Regions from separate parts of the Homo sapiens genome. Here region 1 is linked to region 2. Evidence: promoter capture Hi-C in human tissues and cell types (Jung and others, 2019). All regions are on one chromosome and are shown on one strand. The core of a region is centred on a gene start or on the middle of the fragment in contact, and the rest is flanking DNA. Distances in the headings are between cores, read along the strand shown.

Evidence for each region. Contacts are between HindIII fragments. The study calls those that stand out against the background at their distance.
Region 1: a contact is called between a fragment that was not itself captured here and the fragment with the promoter of MRPL4 in region 2, in 2 of the 25 tissues and cell types used here (lymphoblastoid cells and spleen).

Annotation. Positions count from the first base shown.
Region 1 is chr19:10,363,730-10,370,414 of GRCh38, reverse strand. TYK2 (tyrosine kinase 2) reads left to right here. Exons shown (of 25, transcript NM_003331.5): 4 at 1,997-2,120; 5 at 2,213-2,360; 6 at 3,835-3,998; 7 at 4,517-4,898; 8 at 5,367-5,564; 9 at 5,644-5,801. Among named protein-coding and RNA genes, the nearest start is that of TYK2, 14 kb to the left of the region's middle. RefSeq lists an enhancer at 5,857-6,357. The HindIII fragment of the contact is 7,383 bases long and covers 968-6,685 here.
Region 2 is chr19:10,249,609-10,256,006 of GRCh38, reverse strand. MRPL4 (mitochondrial ribosomal protein L4) reads right to left here and starts at 3,793. Exons shown (of 9, transcript NM_015956.3): 1 at 3,697-3,793; 2 at 3,544-3,610; 3 at 3,306-3,456; 4 at 1,367-1,418. The coding sequence starts at 3,753. RefSeq lists enhancers at 3,291-3,864, 3,721-4,130, 4,261-4,410, 3,865-4,438 and a silencer at 5,808-5,857. The HindIII fragment of the contact is 13,002 bases long and covers 1-6,398 here.

The DNA of each region.
Region 1 (6,685 bases), core at 3,410-5,909, 110 kb before region 2:
AACCTCCGGAGTAGCTGGGACTAAAGGTGCACCCCACCATGGCCAGCCAATTTTTTTTTTTCAGATCTCACTCTGCCGCCCAGGCTGGAGCTCAGTGGCACGATCTTGGCTCACTGCAACCTCCGCCTCCCGGGTTCAAGCAGTCCTCCTGCCTCAGCCTCCCAAGTAGCTGGAATTACAGGCACATGCCACCAGGTCCAGCTATTTTTTTTTTTAATAGAGATGGGATTTCACCATGCTGGCCACGCTGGTCTCGAACTCCTGACCTCAAGTGATCCACCTGCCTCAGACTCCCAAAGTGTTGGGATTACAAGTGTGCACCCTCGAGCCTGGCCATGGCTGATTCTTTGTTTTGTTTTGTTGTGTTGTTTGAGACAGAGTCTCGCTCTGTCGCCCAGGCTGGAGTGCAGTGGCGCAATCTCGGCTCACTGCAAGTTCCACCTCCTGAATTCACACCATTCTCTTGCCTCAGCCTCCCAAGTAGCTGGGACTACAGGCATCCGCCACCATGCCTGGCTAATTTTTTGTATTTTTTAGTAGAGACGGGGTTTCACCATGTTAGCCAAGATGGTCTTGATCTCCTGACCTCGTGGTCTGCCCACCTCAGCCTCCCAAAGTGCTGGGATTATAGGCGTGAGCCACTGCGCCCGGCCGACAGGTACAATTTTTAAATGACATCAGTAGAAGAAAGATACCCTGGGTAGCTGGTGTGGGAAATTACAGCAAGTCTGGAGACTGGATTGGGGTTGAGGTTTGCATTTGAAGGTGGTGGATGGAGCCCCAGGACATGGAGGGTGCAGGAAGAGCAGGTCTTGGTGACCGATCTGTTTTGGAGCAGGTGGGAGAGGTTGAAGATAAGGACCAAGTTCCTGGTTTGAAGAACTGGGCAGAAGCCACACACCCTGGCTCATAGCCATAATCCCATCAACTCCAGAGATTGAGGTGGGAGGATCGCTTGAGCCCTGGAGGTTGAGGCTGCAGTGAGCTAGGATTGCACCACTGCACTGCAACCTGGGTGGCAAAGAAAGACCCTGACCCTTAAAAAAAAAAGGGCAGAGGAAGGGAAGGTTGGAGTTTGCCAACCACAGATAAGATATGTTGTTTGGAACAAGCCATATCTAAGGGGGGGCCTGTGATGTCCAGGGGGAGACAGCCAGGAGGTGACTGGATGTTTCTTTGGGGCTGGAGTTCAGGGAGACGCCAGACAATTGCAGCAGTTTGTAGAGTTATGTGGGTCAGGCTAGGATTAGTTTTGCTGCAGGAATAAGCAATCCCCCCAAATCTTAATCAAGGTTTACCTAAAATCGGCCGAGCACAGTGGCTCATGCCTGTAATCTCAGCACTTTGGGGGGCCAAGGTGGGCAGATCACCTGAGGTCAGGAGTTTGAGACCAGCCTGGCCAACATGGCGAAACCTCGTCTCTTCTAAAAATACAAAAACTAGCCGGGGTTGGTGGCGCACACCTGTAATCCCAGCAACTCAGGAGGCTGAGACAGGAGAATCACTTGAACCCAGGAGGCGGAAGTTGCAGCGAGCCAAGATCGTGTCACTGCTCTCCAGCCTGGGCAACAGCAAGACTCCATCTCAAAAAAAAAAAAAAAGTTTTACTTAAAATCAAGTACAGGTTGGATGGTTCACCTCTGTCTTACAGCTTCACCATCTGTCACAAGAAGCCTTCATCATACCTCGGGTGGTGAAGGTGGCAAGAGAATTTATTTCCAGGCTTGGAAATGTACCCAGCCCTTTGGCCAGAAACCAGCAGTGCAATTGGCTCCATCCTAGCTGCAAGGGAGGCTGGGAAATGTAGTCCTCCTGTGAGGCCACAGCATGGGCAACATACGCACTGTCCTCTGCCCAGGGGCAACGTGAGACTGAAGCTGCAGGTGGGGGAGGGGGCCTCAGAGGGAGTGTGAAGGCAGACATTGGGTCTGGGGGGTCTTTGGGGCTGACGGTAGCAAATGACGTGACTCCTGACCTCGTTTCTCACCTGATCCAGGTATCACTCCTCCTTGCTTCAATCTCTTTGCCCTCTTCGATGCTCAGGCCCAAGTCTGGTTGCCCCCAAACCACATCCTAGAGATCCCCAGAGATGCAAGCCTGATGCTATATTTCCGCATAAGGTGGGTGGAGACCTTTGCAAAGCTCGTCCCCTCCTGTGCTGAAGCTGGTCTGACTCTGTGCTAAGCCCCAGCTGCGTCCCTCCTTCCTGCAGGTTTTATTTCCGGAACTGGCATGGCATGAATCCTCGGGAACCGGCTGTGTACCGTTGTGGGCCCCCAGGAACCGAGGCATCCTCAGATCAGACAGCACAGGGGATGCAACTCCTGGACCCAGCCTCATTTGAGTACCTCTTTGAGCAGGTATGAGCAGGGCTGGGGTGGCAAGACTATTTGTGGGAGACTTAGGGGCAGTTGAGGAGCCCCCATTTCCCTCCCTGATTCAATATAGCTAATAGGTTTCAACTCATGCTATCTGGGGATCTTTTTTTTTTTTTTGAGACGGAGTCTTGCTCTGTCGCCCAGGCTGAAGTGCAGTGATGTGATCTCGGCTCACTGCAAGCTCCGCCTCCCAGGTTCCCGTCATTTTCCTGCCTCAGCCTCCCAAGTAGCTGGGACTACAGGCGCCCGCCACCATGCCCAGCTAATTTTTTGTATTTTTAGTGGAGACGGGGTTTCACAGTGTTAGCTAGGATGGTCTCCATCTCCTGACCTCGTGATCTGCCCGCCTCGGCCTCCCAAAGTGCTGGGATTACAGGCGTGAGCCACCGCTCCCAGCCGATCTTTTTTTTTTGAAATGGAGTCTTGCTCTGTGGCCCAGGCTGGAGTGCAGTGGCGTGATCTCAGCTCACTGCAACTTCCACCTCCCAGGTTGAAGCGATTCTTCCACCTCAGCCTCCCAAGTAACTGAGATTACAGAAGCCCGCCACCACCCCAGGCTAATTTTTCTATTTTTAGTAAAGACGGGGTTTCACCATGTTGGCCAGGCTGGTCTCAAACTCCTGACCTCAAGTGATTCACCTGCCTCAGCCTCCTAAATTGTGGGATTATAGGTGTGAGCCACCATGCCCAGCCAAGAGTTCAGGTTGAAGGGGATAGAGTGCTGTGATTGATTAGTAATGTCTGCCACAGGCACAAGATTGACAAGAGGAGGGGTGTATGCTGTGTATTTGGCCTTTCCAGTAAATGGTGGTCTCTCCCCTCCTCAAGGTGGTAAGACGCAGGAAATTAGAGTTCTCTGGCTAGAGTAAGCTTGTCCAACCCCTGGCCTGCGGACTGCATGCTGCCCAGGACAGCTTTGAATGAAGCCCAACACAAATTCATAAACTATCTTAAAATATTCTGAGATTTTGCTGTGATTTTTTTTTTTTTTTGAGACAGAGTTTCATTCTTGTTGCTCAGGCTGGAGTGCAATGTCATGATCTCAGCTCACTGCAACCTCTGCCTCCCAGGTTCAAGTGATTCTCCTGCCTCAGCCTCCGGAGTAGCTGGGATTACAGACATGCGCCACCACACCTGGCTAATTTTGTATTTTTAGTATAGGCGAGTTTTCTCCATGTTGGTCAGGCTGGTCTCAAACTCCTGACCTCAGGTGACCCGCCCGCCTTGGCCTCCCAAAGTGCTGGGATTATAGGCGTGAGCCACCATGCCCGGCTTGCGATATTCTTTTTTTTTTTTTTTTTTTAGCTCATCAGCTATCATTAGTGTTAGTGTATTTTATGTAGGGCCCAAGACACTTCTTCCAGTGTGGTCCAGGGTAGCCAGAAGATTGGATACCTCTGGGCTAGAGAGGAACGCATTCTCACACCTCCCTTTCTGCTCAATTTCCTGTTCCCAGGGCAAGCATGAGTTTGTGAATGACGTGGCATCACTGTGGGAGCTGTCGACCGAGGAGGAGATCCACCACTTTAAGAATGAGAGCCTGGGCATGGCCTTTCTGCACCTCTGTCACCTCGCTCTCCGCCATGGCATCCCCCTGGAGGAGGTGGCCAAGAAGACCAGGTGTCTGGGAATGGGGTGGGGACGCTGTGTAGGCAGGGGGAAATGTCCTGAGCATCTGGGAGCCAGGGTAGACTTTGCATATTGCCGTGCCTCTACTTTTTTTTTTTTCTGAGCCGGAGTCTCTCTCTGTCACCTAGGCTGGAGTACAGTGGCGCAATCTTGGCTCACTGCAACCTCTGCGTCCCAGGTTCAAGAGATTCTCCTTCCTCAGCCTCCTGAGTAGCTGGGATTACAGGTGCCCACCATCAAGCCCAGCTAATTTTTGTATTTTTAGTAGAGACAGACTGAGTTTCATCATGTTGGCCAGGCTGGTCTCGAACTCCTGACCTCAAGCGATCCTTCCGCCTTGGCTTCCCAAGTAGCTGAGACTACAGGCTCAAGTCACCACACCTGGCTAGTGTGCCTGTTTTCCAGATGAGGCAGCTGAGGCTCAAAGAGGTTAAGCCACTTGCCCTGTGTCACCCAGCTGGGCCTGCAACCCAGGTCCCTGACCAGCCCCTCACTGTGTTTCCCCCCAGCTTCAAGGACTGCATCCCGCGCTCCTTCCGCCGGCATATCCGGCAGCACAGCGCCCTGACCCGGCTGCGCCTTCGGAACGTCTTCCGCAGGTTCCTGCGGGACTTCCAGCCGGGCCGACTCTCCCAGCAGATGGTCATGGTCAAATACCTAGCCACACTCGAGCGGCTGGCACCCCGCTTCGGCACAGAGCGTGTGCCCGTGTGCCACCTGAGGCTGCTGGCCCAGGCCGAGGGGGAGCCCTGCTACATCCGGGACAGTGGGGTGGCCCCTACAGACCCTGGCCCTGAGTCTGCTGCTGGGCCCCCAACCCACGAGGTGCTGGTGACAGGCACTGGTGGCATCCAGTGGTGGCCAGTAGAGGAGGAGGTGAACAAGGAGGAGGTGAGCAAGGCGCCCCTTCCGCCCTGGGGGTTCAGGTTGGGCTGGGGTGGGTTTCTGTGTTCATCCTTGACCCTAGCCTCTGAGGGTGGCTGACCTGAGCCCTCTCCCCACATGGCTCTGGGGCACCTGTCCGCTAGGGCCAGTTTCTTGGAGAAGGTCCTCCATCTGCTTACCCCCTGGGGACCTTATTTCTGGGGTCTGCACCTCCAGGGAACCCCTTCATCTGGGGACTGGCACCTGGGTGTGAGGGGGTCAGGATTCTTCTCTCTGCCTTCCCTAAGGGTCCGGCTTCCAGCATGTGTATGATTTTGGGGTGGGTCCCCATCCCACCTGTGACACTGGGACTTGGGAGGTCAACCTAGGTTGGTGCCTGGCCCTTCTGGCTCCAGTCTCTCCCCAGGGGAAAGTGCAGGAGGTATAAACGGGCATTGCCCTCTCCATCCTCTGCCCCACTTGCTGGGTGTTCAGGGTTCTAGTGGCAGCAGTGGCAGGAACCCCCAAGCCAGCCTGTTTGGGAAGAAGGCCAAGGCTCACAAGGCAGTCGGCCAGCCGGCAGACAGGCCGCGGGAGCCACTGTGGGCCTACTTCTGTGACTTCCGGGACATCACCCACGTGGTGCTGAAAGAGCACTGTGTCAGCATCCACCGGCAGGACAACAAGTGCCTGGTGAGGCCCAGGGTAGGGGCTGGGCTAGGGCCCATCATGGCCTGGGAGGACACCCACCTGATGCGCCCCTGGCTGGCAGGAGCTGAGCTTGCCTTCCCGGGCTGCGGCGCTGTCCTTCGTGTCGCTGGTGGACGGCTATTTCCGCCTGACGGCCGACTCCAGCCACTACCTGTGCCACGAGGTGGCTCCCCCACGGCTGGTGATGAGCATCCGGGATGGGATCCACGGACCCCTGCTGTGAGTGCTGGGTGGGGGGCGCTGGGGGCCACCGCCAAGGGTGCCAACTAGACTGTGAGCCCTAGGGGCTGTGCAGGGTGTGTGTGTAGGTGCACGTCTTATTTTTTTTTTATTTTTTGTCGCCCAAACTGGAGTGCAGTGGCATGATCTCAGCTCACTGCAGCCTCCGCCTCCCGGGTTCAAGCGATTCTCCTGCCTCAGCCTCCCAACTGACTACCTGGGACTACAGGCACTCGCCACCATGCCAGGCTAATTTTTGTATTTTTGTAGAGATGGGGTTTCATCAGATTGGCCAACCTAGTCTTGAACTCCTGACCTCAGGTGATCCACCCGCCTCGGCCTCCCAAAGTGCTGGTATTACAGGCATGAGCCACCACGCCCGGCCATGACTGTCATTGTGTGTTGAGGTTGTCATTGCACAGAACTGGTGATTTTCATGGGACTGTGTGTTACCCTGACGCTGGTGACCATTCAGGCGTATGTTGGATGCTTCCACCTCTGCAGGCGGCTGCCTGTGCTGGTAACTTGTGAGTCACCATCTCAGCGGGGTCCTGTGTGTGACTTGTGGGCCTGAGGGCGTGAAGTTGTCGGTACTTATGTCATCATCAGGTGCAGGGGAGTGTGTGGCTGTCCTGTGTGCTGCCAAGTCGTGATTTGTGACTGTCTCTTTGTCTGGTCACTGGCCCTGTGACTCTCTGTCCCTTGTCCTACCTGTGATGCCAGGGGAGGGGGAAGTGGCCATTTCACCTTGTGAGGCCTGTGGCCGTGCCTGCTGTCAAGGCTATATGTGTGCTGCCCCCGTACAGACAGGTGTTTGGGGACCACGTGTGTCAGCCACTGCACATGTAGGTGTCTGGACCTATGTGACCATGACACTTTATAGT
Region 2 (6,398 bases), core at 2,544-5,043:
CCCAGCTAATTTTTTGTATTTTCAGTAGAGATGGGGTTTTGCCACGTTGACTAGGCTGGTTTGGAACTCCTGGCCTCAAGTGATCCACCTGCCTTGGCCTCCCAAAGTGCTGAGATTACAGGTGTGAGCCACCGTGCCGGCCTATTTTTTGAACAATTTTAATGTGGTTGTAGCCACAAGGAGGGAGGGCCATGGGAAATGACACAGACAGGGAGAATCAGGAAAGAGGAGCAGGGCAAGGAAATCAGGAAGAACTCAGAATAGCAGACTGATGACTTTATTCCTAGGGTGATGGGGAGCCAGGGAAGGTGTGAGCAGGGGGAGGACTGGCCAGACCTCTGGGGTGGATGGATAAGACCCTGACTGGTAATGGATTCTTCAATGTTCTTGGCACAAAACCCAGACTCCTCCCCACTGCTCCCACTGGCCTCTGTGGCAACACTGGCTTCCTTGTGGTCCCTGCCACAGGGCCTTTGCACACCCTGTTCCTGTTATCTCCACACTAGCCCCACTGCCTCCTTGATCTGGTTAGCTTCTACAGTAGACCCAAGGTTGAACGTCCCATTCTCTGGGACATGCTCATAATTACACATTACGTATGACCATCTGACTCACCTTCACTTCTCCTCCCATGACACTGTGACCTTCATTAGAATAGGGACTTTGCCCATCTTTTTCTTGGGGTTGTGGGGGAAGGGGTAGAGACTGGGTCTTGCTGTTTCCCAGGCTGGTCTTTCCTGGCCCCAAGCAACCCACCCACCTCAGCTTCCAGTGCTGGGATTACAGGCCTGAGCCACTTGCACACAGCCGGACCTTGCCTGTTTTGTCCTCGTGGTCCCTGCTATATCCTCTCACCCACCACAATGCCCACATCAGTGAGTGATCAGAAAACAACTGAAAATGAGCTGGGCACGGTGGCTCACGCCTGTAATCCCAGCACTTTGGGAGGCCAAGGCAGGTAGGTTCCTTGAGGTCAGGAGTTTGAGACCAGCCTGACCAACATGGTGAAACTCCATCTCTACTAAAAATACAAAAATTAGCCTGCATGGTGGTGCACACCTGTAATCCCAGCTACTCAGGAGGCAGAGGCAGGAGAATCGCTTGAACCCAGGAAGCGGAGGTTGCAGTGAACCAAGATTGCGCCACTGCACTCCAGCCTGGGTGACAGAGTGAGACTCCATCTCCATCTCAAAAACAAACAAAAAAAAGAGAACCAAAAATGGACCCATCGGTGAATAGTTCAGGAGACAGATGAGGCCCCAGCCGAGCAGTCCAGAGAAAACCCAGCGATGGGCTTCCTCTGGGTCCTATCCCCAACCTCCCCAGGAAGCTCCTTCCCACCACCTTGCTCCATTTAGGCACTCACAATTCTCTTGAAGTTCTTCTGCCACATAGCAACCTGGTGCAGTATGTCCAGCCTGCGGGGAGGAAGGACACATGAGAAGCCCAACTCTGCTTCAAACGCTCCCACCCCACTATAGGAAAACCCAGGATTCTCCCTTCTGCCTCCAGGGCCCTGGGCGATTTGCCTCTGCCCCTCACTGACCCCATCTTGAAATTCTGCCTCAGGGCCTTGGCACTTGCTGTTCCCTCTGCCTGAAACACTCTTCTCCTGGATGGTTCTTTCTCAGCCTACAGGTAGCAGCTCCAATAACTGCTGAAAGGTACCTTCTAAAGAAAGAGCCACCCTGACCAGGTGCAGTGGCTCATGCCTGGAATCCTGGCACTTTGGGAGGCCAAGGCAGGTGGATCACTTGAGGCAAGGAGTAAGACCAGCCTGGGCAACATGGCAAAGTGATGTCTCTCCAAAATATACAAAGATTAGCTGGGCACGGTGGTACATGTCTGTCATTCTGGCTACTCGGGAGGCTGAGGCATGAGAATTAGTAGAACCCAGGAGGCGGAGGTTGAAGTGAGCTGAGAGCATGCCATTGCACTCCAGCCTGGGCGACAAGAGCGAAACTTCATCTCAGAAAAAAAAAGCCACCCCTTCTTCCTTGTTTTTCCTACCATTACTTTTTTCCTGCTATTACACTTCACTTATTGCCACCTTCTTCAGGGACTGGTTTTCCTCTCTAGTTCTATACCATTCCATACAGTCACATACTCAACATCTGAAACATGGCCAGTGCCCCATGCTACAATGTGATTTCGACATAGTTTTAAATACAGGTTAAATACATTATTGAAATCAATTTCACCTGTTTTTTTTTTTGAGATGGAGTCTGTCTCTGTCGCCCAGGCTGGAGTGCAGTAGTATAATCACGGCTCACTGCAACCTCCATCTCCCCAGGTGCAAGCGATTCTCATGCCTCAGCCTCCTGAGTAGCTGGGACTACAGGCTTGCACTAAGACGTCCGGCTAATTTTTGTATTTTTGGTAGAGACGGGGTTTCATCATGTTGGCCAGGCTGGTCTGCAACTCCTGGTTTCAAGTGATCCGCCCACCTCGGCCTCCCAATGTGCTGGGATTACAGATGTGAGCCACAGTAACTGGCCCCTACATTTTCTTTTCTTTCTTTTTTTTTTTTTTTTTTGAGACAGAGTGTTGCCCAGGATGGAGTGCAGTGGCGCGATCTCGGCTCACTGCAAGCTCCGCCTCCCGGGTTCACGCCATTCTCTTGCCTCAGCCTCCAGAGTACCTGGGACTACAGACGCCCGCCACCACGCCCGGCTAATTTTTTTTTGTATTTTTAGTAGAGACGGGGTTTCACCATGTTAGCCAGGATGGTCTCGATCTCCTGACCTCGTGATCCGCCCGCCTTGGCCTCCCAAAGTGCTGGGATTACAGGCGTGAGCCACTGCGCCCAGGGTGGCCCCTACATTTTCTTAGAGATGTTATGAACAGCAGGGTAACTAAAATGCAAACAGCCTCTTCCAGGCACCGAGGAATGGTTTAGTCTTTTTAGTGCTCTTATTTGCAAAAACCAGTTAACAAAGATTATCAACATTTCTATAGAACTTATTATGTGCCAGAATTAAGTCATTTATTCATCACAGCAACCTCCCGACCGCTGACAAAATAGGGACACTGAGGGACAAGAGGGGAAGGCAGGATTTGAACCTAATCAGTCGGGCTCCAGAATTCTGTCTCCCTAACCCTTAGATGATGTCACCTCTCAGGCTTCAATCTCACACAGCGCTACAGCAGGGGAAACTGTCATCATTCCCCTTTGACAGGTGGAGAAACGGAGGCTGTAGAAATACAGCACTTTCCCAAGGGTACAAGCCCAAAGTCATCGTGACTCCTGAAATCCCGCTCTTCATCCCTCTGCCACTCAGTTCACCATTACAGCCCTCGCTCACCTGGGCGCGGTGGCGAAAACATCGGGGTGCAGGTCGGCCAGGCCCACGCGCTCCTGCTCGAAGCCCCGCAAGGACTCGACCCAGGCCTGCACTGGGCGTCGATGAGTGGGTACCGGGAGCTCGACTTTGCGCAGCACGGGCTCCGGGAGACCTGGAGCGATTGCGGGGGTCAGAGGTTAGGGTCAAGGGTCAGACCTCTCTGTCGCCGCCCCTCCTGGAGCCACCCCGGTTGCCTTACCCTCGCTCGCCACCTGCTCCGGGTTCTCGGTCGCACGCGCTGCCTCTTCCGCCAGGGAACTCAGGCCCTGCAAGGGTTGGGCGAAAGTGAGAGACGACCCCTGGACACCCCCAAATTTCATCCTTCGACCACGCCTCCAGCCCCTGGCCTCACCTGGCTGCCGGTAGGCCGAAGCCAGGCCCGCGCCCCGGCCCGGACGAACTGCAGCATCGCCGCGCAGCCTCCCACGCCGCGGGAGGTCAAGGCCACTGGAGCCTCGCGAGGCGCCGCTGGATGACGTCACGCACGCGACGCCGCCCTACCCGCCGCGACTCCGCGCTGGAAAGCGGGGTGTGCAAAACCGAAGATGGAGGGGGTCCGACCCGGCGTGCCCAGACCTCCACCCCAGGACTAACCCCCAGACCCAATTTTCACTCCTGCCTCAAGGACCCTCCGTAACACTGGGGAACGCGACCTCACAGCAAGAAGACCCAGCTTCCGTAGGCCTAGCCTACTTTGGGTCCCGCCTCCGACGAGCCGGTGCAGGAATTCAGCCAATGAGACCTCTCTGGCCCAATTCAGCCAATGACTGTTAAGCCTGAAGGAGTGACCCCCGCCCATAAGTGGGCAGTTCTGGAGTGAGCAACTAAGGAATACAGCCAATAACGCTTAAACTTTTGCTGTTGGTCACGCCCACCGGGCCACGCCTTCATCCCGCCTCCAAGGCTGTCGGAGATGGTTTTTTCTTTATCCAGTTATGTGGTTTTGTTTTTTTATTTGTTTTTTTGTTTTTGTTTTTGTTTTTGTTTTTGTTTTTTTTGAGACGGAGTCTTGCTCTGTTGCCCAGGCTGGAGTGCAGTGGCGCGATCTCGGCTCACTGCAAGCTCCGCCTCCTGGGTTCACGCCATTCTCCTGCCTCAGCCTCCCGAGTAGCTGGGACTGCAGGCGCCCGCCACCACGCCTGGCTAATTTTTTGTATTTTTAGTAGAGACGGGTATCACCGCGTTAGCCAGGATGGTCTCGATCTCCTGACCTCGTGATCCTCCCGCCTCAGCCTTCCAAAGTGCTGGGATTACAGGCGTGAGCCACCGTGCCTGGCGTTTTTTCATTTGTTTAAAGGCAGGGCCTTATTGCCCTCAGAAAGCCTTCAGGATTGGGCCTGCCAGACCATGCCTCCCAGTTTAGATTCCCCAGGGCAGGGCCATGTCCCCCCGAAACCCCTCAGATTAGGTATTTGTGTCCCTTACCCCCTAGACCAGGGTCCTCTCCCCTACCCCCTTAAACCAGGTCCCGTCCCCTCTCAGACCTTCCAGGGCTCTCCAAGGACAGAACAAAGTGGGGAGTCCACAGATCCTGGAGTGCCTCCCTTGTCGCCCCCTAACAAATCCGAATGCTTATTTTTAGTTTCTTTGTTTTGGTTTTTAGAGACAAGGTCTTCCTCTGTCGCCCAGGCTGGAGTGCAATGGGCAAGATCATGGCTTACTGCAGCCTCGACCTCCAGAGCTCAAGGGATTCTCCTGCCTCTGTCTCCTGAGTAGCTGGTCTACAGGTACGCAAGCCCGGCTCATTTTTGTATTGTATTTTTTTATTTTGTATTTGTATTTTGAGATGGAGTATCGCTCTGTCGCCCAGGCCGGAGTGCAGTGGTGTGAGATCGCACATCTCGGCCTCCCGGGTTCAAGCGATTCCCTGCCTCAGCTTACCGAGTAGCTGGGACTACAGGCGCCCGCCACCACACCTGGCTAACTTTTTGTATTTTTAGTAGAGAGGGGGTTTCACCGTGTTAGCCAGGATGGTCTCAATCTCCTGACCTCGTGATCCGCCCGCCTCGGCTTCCCAAAGTGCTGGGATTACAGGCGTGAGCCACCGAGCCCGGCCCTAATTTTCGTGTTTTTATTAGAGACAGTGTGGCACCACGTTGGCCAGGCTGGTCTTGAACTCCTGACCTCAGGTGATCCACCCGCCTCGGCCTCCCAAAGTGCTGGGATTACAGGCCTGAGCCACCGCGCCCGGCCTAATTTTTTTTTTGTAGAGATGGCGGGGGGTGGGTCTCCCAATGTTGCCCAGGCTGGTCTTGAACTCCTGGGCTCAAGCAATTCTCCCGCATTGGTCCCCCAAAGTGCTGGGATTACAGGCATGAGCTACTGTGGCCCACCCATTTTTAGGTTCTTTACCATGTTCCCGATAGACCTCCAGGGGGCGCCACCGGATCATAGCCGGCTTCCCTACCAGTCCAGGGCTGTCTACTTGGAGGCCAGTGCGTTCTGGACAGAGCACAGCTGACAACGTGGTCTGTGAACCAACCTCATTTTCCTCTGCTGGAAAAGGAGGTTATGAGATTCAGTGACGTAATGGAGGCAAAGCTTCCCATGCCTGGTACAAGGTGTAAAGTCAATAAATAGCATTATTATTATTTTTTTTTTGAGACAGAATCTCACTCTGTTGCCCAGGCTGGAGTGCAGTAGCGCGATCTTGGCTCACTGCAACCTCTGCCTCCTGGGTTCAAGCGATTCTCCTGCCTCAGCCTCCCGAGTAGCTGGGATTACAGGCGCCCGCCACTACGCCCAGCTAATTTTTATTTTTATTTTTTATTTTTAGTAGAGACAGGGTTTCACCATTTTGGCCAGGCTGGTCTCGAACTCCCGACCTCAGGTGATCCACCCGACTCGGCCTCCCAAAGTGCTGGGATTACAGGCGTGAGCCACCGCGCCTGGCCTCTACCAAAAATTTAAAAATTAGCTAGGTGTGATGGTATATGCCTGTGGTCCCAGCTAATGGGGAGGCTAAGGCAGAAGGATCACCTGAACCCAAGAGATTGAGGCTGCAGTGAGCCATGTTCATGCCACTGTACTCCAGCCTGGGTGACAGACTAAGAT